Regions from separate parts of the Homo sapiens genome. Here all the other regions are linked to region 1. The links are contacts of gene promoters, found by promoter capture Hi-C in blood cells and fetal thymus (Javierre and others, 2016). All regions are on one chromosome and are shown on one strand. Each heading gives the region's core, a stretch centred on a gene start or on the middle of the fragment in contact. The rest is flanking DNA. Distances are from core to core; before and after follow the strand shown.

Region 1 (2,771 bases), core at 77-2,576:
GCTAGGTGGAGCAGGAAGGTGTCGGTGCTGCTCAGGGCTGTCCGCCGGCTCAGCAGCACGGCTGCCACCGCGCCGTTGCCCAGCAGCCCCAGCAGAAAGAGGAGGCTGTAGAGGGCTGGCAGGAAGGCCCGGTCGAAGTTCAGGCTGAAGTCCTGTGGGCAGGGCGGGGAGGTACAGCACGAGTCACTCTCGTTTTCTCCATAGTCATAGGAAGAGCTGAAGTTCTCCAGGAGGGCGGCAACCTCGGCGTCATTTAGCACTTGGTGGTCACTCACCTGTGAGGGCGGGAACGGGGAGGAAGGGGCTGTGTAAAGGCCTGGCAGGAACTCTTTTGTGATTGAGTCTGATTTAGTCTGTGATTTACTCTGAGCAGCTCCTCCTATAACTGTCCCCGCCAGTCTTCCAGGGCCGTACTTCCTCAACTCCATCCGCTCAGCCTGGGCTCTGGGATAGTGACTTCCCTTCTCAAAGGCTGCTTCTCTCGCATTCTTCTGCGTGATCCCATCGGCCCAGGGACCCCTGGGCAGGAAGAAGAGCGTCCCTCCAGTGCCCAGAGCCCTCTCTGCCCACTGTCCTCTCTCTCCCTGCTCTCCCTTCAGGCTTGCCTTGCGTCCTCAGTGCCCCACCCCCAACACATAGTTCAACCACCTTCCTCCCCAGCGCCTCTCCACAATCCCCTTTTCCAGTCACTAACCCTCCTCTTCCCTCCTTGGCCCTTGTCCGGGGACCCCAACTTCCTGCGCCCCCCCCCACCGTGTGGCCTCTCTACAAGTCACCACGCCCCCCAAATGCATGCAGTCTGCCCAGTCCTTCCCCCTCCCTACACTGAGGCTTGCACGGCCATTTAGCTGCCCACAAGGGGATCCCCCACTTAGCTTGAGAAGGAATCTTCTTTATCCCCTCACCCCCAGCACTATGGACCTGCAGGTCTCCCCAGTACCAATTTAGTCCAGCACGCCAAGAGTCAAAGTTCCAAGTCTCCTGAAGGGAGCCTTCGAGTCTACTTGCCCCCCGCCCCCCCCATTTTGCAGACGAGACACCGAAGCCAGAGAGGAGAGGAGAGGCACCCAGGGTCAGTGGCCAAGCTGGGTTCCCAATTCCCCAGTGCTGTTTCTGCCACAACCCATGCGGCCTCCAGCTACTCACCCAACCCTGTGGTGACCCTGGGCTGTGGGCCAGCCCTGGCATTCCCCTGATGCCCCGGGTTTTCCACTTCGAATTCTGGCCTGGCCTGGCTGGGCAGCAGCACTTACCTCAAGGACCATGGCTGGGCTGGTGCTCTGGCTGCTGGGTGGTGTGCTGCCTGCCCCTCTGCTTTGGTGCTTGTGGTTGGAAACCTGCAGTCACAGAGGAAGTGGGAGTTTCAGGCAGTTCTCAGCAGCAGCCTCTTCCAGGGAGTTACCTCTACCAGACCTCCCTAAACCTCAGGCCACAGAGTTTCCGTGACTGGGTGAAACCTCTCTGGAGGAGCTGGCTACAAGCTTGGGACCAGAAAAGCTGGGCAGAGGATGACTGGCTGGGGGCAGGTCCTTTGAGAAGAGAGGTCTGAAGAGGAAGCAATGCAGCTGAGAAGTGAAGGGCAACCCTACTGCCTGCACTGGTAGGGTCAGTGCTCCATAGATTGGAACTCATCTGTCCTGGCCTTGAGTTGATCTTTGCATGATTGTAAAGGCTGGGTAGAGAAATAAGTCTGCAGAGGAGATCCACCTTCTTAAAAATTTCAGCTAGGTGCAGTGGCTCATTCCTGTAATCCCAGCTACTGGGGAGGCTGAGGCAAGAGGATCACTTAAGGCCAAGAGTTTGAGACCAGCCTGGGCAGCATAGCGAGGCTCCATCTCTACCAAAAATAAAAAAAGCCAGCCGGGCATGGTGGCATGTGCCTGTAGTCCTAACTACTTGGAAGCCTGAGACAGGAGGATTGCTTGAGCCCGGGAGTTCAAGTCTGCCTTGAGATATAATTGTACCACTGCACTCCAGCCTGGTGACAGAGTGAGGCCCTGTCTCTTAAAAAGGGAATTAAAATATTTTTTTAAAAAGCCGTTACACTAAATCTAGCTTTTTACCACCACCTCTCCCTGCTAATCAGTGGGGAAAAAGAAAGGGAACTACCAGTAATGAACTTGCTATGTGATAGACATTGCTTTAGGTGCTTTCTCCGACACTGCCTTATTTCAACCACACAACTCACTTGTGACGTGCGGGGTTATCTGCATGGATGATTCAGAAAGGGGACAGGCCTTCGCCAGACACGGCAATTAAAGGTGGGCGTGAGGATTGATCCCACGGCTGTCTGATTCTCCTTTTCCTACTCATGAACACTGTCTTCAGTTTCTTTTAAGTGAATAAGCTATGATATATTCATGCAGTTAAAAACAAATGAACTAAAGCTACACATTTGAACATGGATGCATCTAGAAAAGCCAACGATCACATGGTAGAAGAAGCAAGTTACAGAATGCCATGTATAGTTTGATGCCACTTACATAAACTCTAAAAACCACCACAAAATCAATACCATGTTGTTTTGGATAACACTGTTGGTTCTCGAGGTTTAAAACAGGGACAGGAGATACCACAAATTCATAAAAGCAGTTGCTTCTCGGGCAAGAAGGAGGATGGGGTTGGGGAGGAGGCCATAGGAACTTCTTGATCTTAAGGAAAAGCTGTAAGGCAGCCTTGGTACAGCACATCAGTCACTTTATGGCAGAGAATGGTGAACAATTCCTCTCCCCACCTGCCCTCAGCTCTCCCCTTTGCCCTCTTCTCCCCTC
Region 2 (2,771 bases), core at 93-2,592, 480 kb before region 1:
ACCACGCTCAGCTATTTTTTTTTGTATTTTTGCTAGAGATGGGGTTTCACCATGTTGCCAGGCTGGTCTAGAACTCCTGACCTCAAGTGATCCACCCACCTTAGCCTCCCAAAGTGCTGGGATTACAGGTGTGAGCCACCGCACCCAGCCCTATTTTTCATTTTTGTAACAGAAAAATAGCTAATGCAGAATTGAAAAATTCCTAACCATTAAGGTTATGAGACACTAAAATAGAGTATCATCTTATGCAACTTATTCCCCAGACTGGAAGTCTGGTTAGTGACACGAGGAATGAATGAAATAACCTGCTAACGTTTCTTTCAGGTCAGGGACCCAAGGTTTATACTGACCCCCTCTCCTCACCTCCCTCATGCCTTGACCTCTGACCCTCTTATCTTTGGAGGTTTTCACACCAGACACTGCAGCAGACACCCATGATAAGTACCATGACTCCAATGAGTGCCCAGGGCGTCCAGGCAGGCGTCCGTTCAACAGCCATCCTACCTGAGCAGCAGCAGCAGCAGCAACAGCAGCAACAGCAACAGCAGCAGCAGCAGCAACAGCAACAGCAGCAGCAGCAGCAGCAGTACCACATCCGGCAGCAGCAGCAGCAGCAGATCCTGCGGGTAAGGCACTGGGATTTCATCTGGGACCTGGGAGCCCAGGGAGGAAGAGAGGCACAAGTTCTTCCCACACAGTTACCGAGACTAAACAAGGCAGTGTACCAAAACACCTAGCAGAGCGGCTGGCCTCTAGTGGTGCTGGAGAAGTTTTCTACCCTCCCCCTTTTTGTTTTCTGGGGATCATAGTGGGAGAGAGTTGGACATTGTCTGCTGGGTACCCTAGATTTGGTTTCTTTCTGTGCAGCTGTCTAAAAAGGGAAGGCAGTAGACCCCGAGCTCCCACCCTGCTTCCTCATCCCCTGCCCTCAGCCCTTTAGTTCTGAGGCTTAGCTTCCTCCCTCTGCTCCTTCTGAAGTATCTTTTGTGTTCTTATAGCAGCAGCAGCAACAGCAACAGCAGCAGCAGCAGCAGCAGCAACAGCAACAGCAGCAGCAGCAACAGCAACAACAGCAACACCAGCAGCAACAGCAGCAACAGGCGGCTCCTCCCCAACCCCAGCCCCAGTCCCAGCCCCAGGTAGCTGCTGGACTACAGCCCCAGGCTCAGGGACAGCTGCCCAGGTTGGGCACGCAGCCAGTGAACTGGGTTGGGGACAGTATGGAATAGGGTAGAGGTGGGAGGCAGGGCATGGCACCCTAAAAATGGATTGGGAGGCCAGGCGCAGTGGCTCACGCCTGTAATCCCAGCACTTTGGGAGGCCAAGGCAGGTGGATCACTTGAGGTCAGGAGTTCAAGACCAGCCTGGCCAAGATGGTGAAACCCCGTCTCTACTAAAAATACAAAAAATAATAATAATAAATAAGCCGGGCATGGTGGCAGGTGCCTGTTATCTCAGCTACTCAAGAGGCTGAGGCAGAGAATTGCTTGAACTTGGGAGGCAGAGGTTGCAGTGAGCCAAGATCATGCCACTGCACTCCAGCCTGGGGGACAGAGCGAGACTCCATCTCAAAAAAAAAAACGGATTGGGAAAGGAGGTTGAAGAAGGAGAAAAGTTCGACTTCAGTCTTCCACTTCCTATTTCCACCCAGTTCCAGCGCCAGGGGCTTCAGCAGACCCAGCAGCAGCAACAGACAGCAGCTTTGGTCCGGCAACTTCAACAACAGCTCTCTAGTAAGCCTGCCTGCCTTCCCAAGGAGAACCCCATGGAATAAATTTAGGGGGCGGGGTGGGCCAAAGTAGCTGAAACGATAGCTTCAGGCCCAGGTTATGAGAGGAGGCATTCCATTCCATCCCCTTCCCTCGATACCTGAACAGCTTTCCTCGTGCATACCCACACCCCTGCCTGGTCTTCCATCCCTGATAATCTCTGGTTTTTCACAGATACCCAGCCACAGCCCAGTACCAACATATTTGGACGCTACTGAGCCACCTGGAGGAACTGCTTGTGCACTGGATGTGGCCCCACCCTTTCCTCTTAATTCCCAATCCCATTCCTGGGCTAGCACCAGTAGTGGTTGGGGCCCTCCCCTCAGGCTCCATTTTTAATAAGTTTTTAGTATTTTTGTTAATGTGAGGCATTGAGCTGTTGGGTTTTGTATATTATTTATATAGAGACCCCAGAGCTGTTGCACCCAATACACAGAGCTTCTTTGCAAAGGGAGTGTGCGAGTTCTGCATGTCTGGGAAGGGTGGTCTCTTGGGAGAATGCAGGGGGTTGGACCAACAAGTCAGAGTCTTCATTCTATTCTGATCATCTCCCCTGTTTACCTTACACTCTAAAATTTCTTTTTTTCTTTTTTTTTGAGACGGAGTCTTGCTCTGTCGCCCAGGCTGGAGTGCAGTGGCGCGATCTCGGCTCACTGCAACCTCTGCCTCCCGGGTTCCAGCGATTCTCCTCCCTCAGCCTCCCGAGCAGCTGGGATTACAGTTATGTGCCATCACGCCCGGCTAATTTTTGTGTTTTTTTTGGTAGAGACAGGGTTCCACCATGTTGGCCAGGCTTGTCTCGAACTCCTGACCTCATGATCTACCTGCCTCAGCCTCCCAAAGTGCTGGGACTACAAGCGTGAGCCACCGCGCCCGGCCTAAATTTCTTAATTCTAATTGGATTGCTACCCTCTCTTCCTCTTCTTCAACATGGCAACACATTAAGGTATAGGCCCTTAGTCTCTTTTTATTTATTTTTGAGATGGAGTTTTGCTCTTGTCG
Region 3 (2,771 bases), core at 166-2,665, 370 kb before region 1:
CTCAACCCTGCAGCCCTCCTGCCCCACCCCTGCTACTTGCCCACTTGACACTAGATGAGCCAAAGGAACCAGTAAAGCTATACCAAAAAGCATGCTCAGAGGCACAGAAACGCAAAACACAGCAATGTGAACTACTGAACCGTAAACATGTTGAACATGGTAAAATTTTATGTTTTTTTTCAGCTTAAAAATTAAAAAAAAAAAAAAAAAAAAAAAAGCATGACTCAGAAGTCTAAAAGAGTGCACCTGTCCTGGTGTCTCTGGCACTGCTCCCTGTGAGAACCTTCCGTCTTAGAATCACAATGAACACTTTTCAGGGTCATGCTCAGGGACACAAGGGACACTCCCTTCCTGATGGCACAAATGCTACCATACTCAGTGGGCATGGCTCCAATCTTACTCACTCTTAGGGAAGTCTGCCTCCAAGTCTTGCCCAGGCTCATCCAAGACATTGGCCATCTTGACTGCCATGGCCAGGACATCATCTCGAGCAGGCCCAAACAGGTCACAGTCTTCCAGGAGTCCCTCTGCACTCTGGTTGCTCACAAGATCTGGGAAGCAGAGAAGTTGGCTCAGTGGTTACAAGCTCCTGCTAGCACCCTCACAAGCTTTCAGGGACTGATCCCAACTATCCTCCCATTCTACTAGGCACCAAGATCACCAATACCACCCCCTCGGGCAGAGACATGCTGGTAGCACCCTGTCTCCCTCGTCGCCACCATCTATGGCATACCACAAAGGTCAGATGAGGCCTTGTCTAACTCCTCAGCCTCTGCAATCATTTCTGCCATAGCCAGGATGTCGGCCTCCAAGGGGTTGGAAGGGATCTTCACCTTCAGCTCCTCAATGGTCTCTACAATCTTGTCTGTGCTCTCCAAGGTAGTGGGCAAGAACATGGGCACAGGCACCTGGAGGCACGAATCCCAACTAAATGCCAAGAACCACACCAGCAGTTGGGGGGAAGTTGGGGGGACAGATGATGAGTGAAGGGGGACAGTTGATGAGAGTAAGGGGAAAGGAGGACCCAGCCAGGAAGGGCAGGGAAACTCACCGGGATAGGCATCGAGAAAGGCACCGGGACTTTCTGGCAGTACAGATGCATAGGCACTGGCACGAAGATGGGCACTGGGATGGGCAGCACGATCACCTGTGGCTTCCACTCTTCTGTGGATAAGAAAGGGGTCTTCTCAGAGACCCTGCTGGACTGGTCACATCTGACCCACCAAAAGCTCTAACATGCTCAGTGTCACAAAACTGCCCTTGAATCAAAGGCTGAAAGACACCTCTATGATTCTAGGACAACCATATGAATGAGGCTTCAGCTACCTAAGAAATCCCCTTGTCCAGCTCACGGACATAGGGCTGGCAGGCCTAGGACTCTGGAATACAGCCTGTGGCATCGAGGTACCCTGGCTCACCTGTTTGACTTCCTTTGGACTTCATCTCCACCTTGCAGGAGACGCCCCGATTCTGCATCAGTGGCTTACACATGGCAGCCTTGTTTTTGCGGGGTGTTGCTGGGGGTGGTGGGGGTGGAGGGGTGGGAGCAGTGGGAGCTGATCGGGTCTTCACAGGGATCTGCAAAGACAGAGGAACATTTGTGCCACCAACCGCCGTACCCTCCTCTGAGATTATCCTCCCCCTTGGCTTTTGCCCCGACCTTGCCCAAATTCCCATTTTCCTCTGGGGTCCTCACTGTGTTGCTGTTCTCCACTTTGGTTTGAGAGGGTGTCTGGGGTTTTGACTCAGGAGACTGACCTGTAGATCAAAACAAATGAATGCTCTCATCCAAGGGACTAGCTCTCCATTTTCCTTACCCCTGTTCCAGGAGAGCTTCATTAACAGGTACACCAAATACAGATGGGAACTTCTAGGATTTGACCCCCTTGCCATCCCAGATCTAGTCTCCTCTATGCCCCAGCAATAGCAGCCTAAAAGATTATTTGTTCCTGGAGAATGAAACATTACATTTTCCCCCAAAACCCACATTTGAGACCTTCCACTTAGATAGCCTGAAGAGTCTGTTATCCCTGGAGTTGTGGAGGGGCAGGGGTAACATTCTAGAAATAGCAGTCTTCAGTCTCACTAAATGTAGAGTTTATGCTGAGATTTCCTTATCTCAGAAACGTAACCATAACCCCTATATGCTCCATCCTACCAGGAAAGGCACCCACTCCCTAACAATATATATTTCATAGACAATCAGTAGATGCTAACTCCAAGAAGCTTTAAATAAGACTCCCCCGGTACCTGCAGGGTTCGGAAGCTAAAAGAGAATACAGTTCACAGTACTAGCACCCTATCTGGCCAGGGGTGAGCTGAACGCAAGAGGAAGGAGAAAGGGGCTAGGCTTAGGATTAGGAGAGTCCAGGCTCCCTCTAACAGAGTGTACCCCCTGCCTGGGACTCACTGTTCAGGAGGCTCTCGGGCCCACTCTGGGTATCCAGGTTGGGTTGGTTCTGCTGGCTATAGAAACGCAGAAGACACTGCTGGTTGCAGAAATGACGGATCTGCCCACGCCAGTGGATGGTCTCCAGCAGCTTCCCCTGGCGCTTACACGCATGGCACCGGGCAGCCTGAGGATGTCAAAAGGATGGTCAGACCTGCCTCCCTAAAATGCGTTGGGCCCTTTCTTTCCCCCGGGATAAGCCATGCTCCTCCCCTTGGAGATCGGGCCAGCTTAGAGATGGAAGGCTGGCTGCCCTCCCTGGAGATCTGTCCACACCCCGAGCTCAGTACCACAGCCCGTGCTCCCCACTGCCCTCTTTCCC
Region 4 (2,771 bases), core at 272-2,771, 320 kb before region 1:
AACCCTGTCTCTACTAAAAATACAAAAAATTAGCCAAACATGGTGGCGTGTGCCTGTATTCCCAGCTACTTGGGAGGCTGAGGCAGGAGAATCGCTTGAACCCAGGAGGCAGAGGTTGCAGCGAGCTGAGATCACGCCACTGCACTCCAGCCTGGGCAACAGAGTGAAACTGCCTCAAAAAAATAAATAAAAGACTGGGCAAAACAGCGGCTCACGCCTGTAATCCCAGCAATTTGGGAGGCCGAGGCGGGCAGATCATGAGTTGAGGAGATCAAGACCATCCTGGCCAACATGCTGAAAGCCCGTCTCTACTAAAAATACAAATAAATAAAATAAAAATACCAAAATTAGCGCACATGTAGTCCCAGCAACTTGGGAGGCTGAGGCAGGAGAATCACTTGAACCTGGAAGGCAGAGGTTGCAGTGAGCCGAGATTGTGCCATTGCACTCCAGCCTGGCGATAGAGCAAGACTCTGTCTCAAAAAAAAAAAAAAAAAAAAGACTTTTGGCCCAGGCGGGACAGATCACCAGGTCAGGAGATCGAGACCATCCTGGCTAACACGGTGAAACCCCGTCTCTACTAAAAAATACAACAAATTAGCCGGGTGTGGTGGCGGGCGCCTGTTGTCCCAGCTACTCTGGAGGCTGAGGCAGGAGAATGGCGTGAACCTGGGAGGTGGAGCTTGCAGTGAGCCGAGATTGCGCCACTGCACTCCAGCCTGGGCAAGAGAACAAGACTCCGTCTCCAAAAAAAAAGACTTTTGGTATTAGCCTGGGCATGGTGGCTCATGCCTGTAATACCAACACTTCAGGAGGCTGAGGCGGGTGAATCACGAGGTCCTGAGTTTGAGACCAGCCTGGCCAAGGTGGTGAAACCCCGTCTCTACTAAAAATACAAAAAGTAGCTGGACGCGGTGGTGGGCGCCTGTGATCCCAGCTACTCGGGAGGCTGAGGCAGGAGAATCACTTGAACCCGGGAGGCAGAGGTTGCAGTGAGCCGACATTGCACCACTGCACTCTAGCCTGGGCGACAGAGGAAGACTCCGTTTCCAAAAAAAAAGACTTTTGGTACTAAGCTTTCTCGTATGATTTTTCTGTAATCTTATATTAATAGACGTGGGATGACGATTATGAAAAATAACTTTTTAGTCATTCGGTAGGTTGTCATGTAGTCAGTGTTAAGTCTCTCTTTACTTTGAAGATTTAGAGTTCTGAAAAGTTGATTTGTGCCTGCAGTATCTCTTAGTGTTTACCACAAGTCATTTCTCAGAGTGTCTGTAGATGTTTAGGCTGTACTTAAGTACTGCACCTACCTACTTGGAATATCTTTTTGAGACTGTATTCAGAGATCTAAGTCCTGATTTCGTCCTGTCAACCCCAGATTTTCTTTTTTCTTTTTCTTTTCTTTTTTTTTTTTTTTTTGAGACAGTCTCACTCTGTAGCCCGGGCTAGAGTGGTGCAGTGGCACAATCTCGGCTCATTTCAACCTCTGTCTCCCGGGTCCAAGTGATTCTCCTGCCTCAGCCTCCCAAGTAGCTGGGATTACAGACGTCCGTAGAGTCAGGGTTTCACCATGTTGGCCAGGCTTGTCTTGAACTCCTGACCTCATGATTCACCCGCCTCGTCCTCCCAAAGTGCTGGGATTACAGGCGTGAGCCACCACCCCCAGCCCAACCCCAAATTTTTTATAATGTCATTAGGTATAAAAACTTCAGAAGCCTCCAATCCTGAGCCCTAGCTAATTCATTGTGCCAGTGACATGTGTAGAGAAGAAGCCTGGTGGGGTATGATTTGATTAACACTGAACTTTGTTCTTTCTTCCAGATTTCCTCGTCCTGTGACTGTGGAGCCCATGGACCAGTTAGATGATGAAGAGGGACTTCCAGAGAAGCTGGTTATAAAAAACCAGCAATTTCACAAGTATGCAGTCTTGATAGATTTCCCTATTAGGTGTTTCCTTCTTAAGAAAGCTTATAAAGGGATATGTAAAAGAGGCAGGTCTTTGCTGCACATGTTCACTGGCAGCCATTATCTTGGTCCTCACAAGGAATGCAATTCTTAGCTGGGGTAATTCTGGACAAAGTTAGTAACCTAGGAACCTTGCCTATAGGGAACGAGAGCAGCCACCCAGATTTGCACAGCCTGGCTCCTTTGAGTATGAATATGCCATGCGCTGGAAGGCACTCATTGAGATGGAGAAGCAGCAGCAGGACCAAGTGGACCGCAACATCAAGGAGGCTCGTGAGAAGCTGGAGATGGAGATGGAAGCTGCACGCCATGAGCACCAGGTCATGCTAATGAGACAGGGTGAGTCTAGGCCTGTAAGTCTTAAAGCTGAAAGGACAAAATGACATTTTTAAATGGGTTTCTTTGTATCAATTAACAGAAGGGCCTACATCTCTGCTTTTATACTTAGTTTGCGTTGATTTTGGTAGATAAATAGGCTTGGAGATGTGGCAGAGATACTGGATTCTGTGGAGAAGGAAATGATAGGTATAACTTCATTTTGGAATCTGGACACCACAGGTGGTTCCAAAGGAATTAGATCCTCTTTGCTTTCTGGATCTTTATTTGAAGAAAGTCATTAGATCTATATGAAGACAATGAGGAATATTCTTAGTCTGTTGTTTTTTTAGATTTGATGAGGCGCCAAGAAGAACTTCGGAGGATGGAAGAGCTGCACAACCAAGAGGTGCAAAAACGAAAGCAACTGGAGCTCAGGTAACTTTTCTCGAACACTTTTTCCCTAACAACTCTAAAAGGTAATGTCT

What was found. Contacts are between HindIII fragments. The CHiCAGO score rates a contact against its expected background, and 5 or more counts as called.
Region 2: a fragment that was not itself captured here is called in contact with the fragment with the promoter of CXCR3 in region 1 in 1 of 17 cell types (naive CD8 T cells); the score reaches 5.9 in naive CD8 T cells.
Region 3: a fragment that was not itself captured here is called in contact with the fragment with the promoter of CXCR3 in region 1 in 1 of 17 cell types (non-activated CD4 T cells); the score reaches 5.3 in non-activated CD4 T cells.
Region 4: a fragment that was not itself captured here is called in contact with the fragment with the promoter of CXCR3 in region 1 in 1 of 17 cell types (total B cells); the score reaches 5.2 in total B cells.

What each region holds. Positions count from the first base shown.
Region 1 is chrX:71,617,185-71,619,955 of GRCh38, forward strand. CXCR3 (C-X-C motif chemokine receptor 3) reads right to left here and starts at 1,327. Exons shown (of 2, transcript NM_001504.2): 1 at 1,254-1,327; 2 at 1-275. The coding sequence starts at 1,265. The HindIII fragment of the contact is 3,713 bases long and covers 1-1,479 here.
Region 2 is chrX:71,140,232-71,143,002 of GRCh38, forward strand. It overlaps MED12 (mediator complex subunit 12), which reads left to right. Exons shown (of 45, transcript NM_005120.3): 42 at 404-626; 43 at 999-1,139; 44 at 1,652-1,733; 45 at 1,944-2,219. The coding sequence ends at 1,987. It overlaps LOC124905197 (a long non-coding RNA gene), which reads right to left. Exons shown (of 4, transcript XR_007068262.1): 4 at 2,315-2,771. Among named protein-coding and RNA genes, the nearest start is that of NLGN3, 3.2 kb to the right of the region's middle. The HindIII fragment of the contact is 5,236 bases long and covers 1-2,771 here.
Region 3 is chrX:71,244,935-71,247,705 of GRCh38, forward strand. It overlaps ZMYM3 (zinc finger MYM-type containing 3), which reads right to left. Exons shown (of 25, transcript NM_201599.3): 13 at 2,411-2,576; 14 at 1,661-1,758; 15 at 1,419-1,578; 16 at 1,052-1,164; 17 at 734-908; 18 at 405-551. Among named protein-coding and RNA genes, the nearest start is that of ZMYM3, 7.8 kb to the right of the region's middle. The HindIII fragment of the contact is 1,618 bases long and covers 607-2,224 here.
Region 4 is chrX:71,294,741-71,297,511 of GRCh38, forward strand. It overlaps NONO (non-POU domain containing octamer binding), which reads left to right. Exons shown (of 12, transcript NM_007363.5): 6 at 1,825-1,920; 7 at 2,111-2,307; 8 at 2,637-2,721. Among named protein-coding and RNA genes, the nearest start is that of ITGB1BP2, 5.6 kb to the right of the region's middle. The HindIII fragment of the contact is 894 bases long and covers 1,075-1,968 here.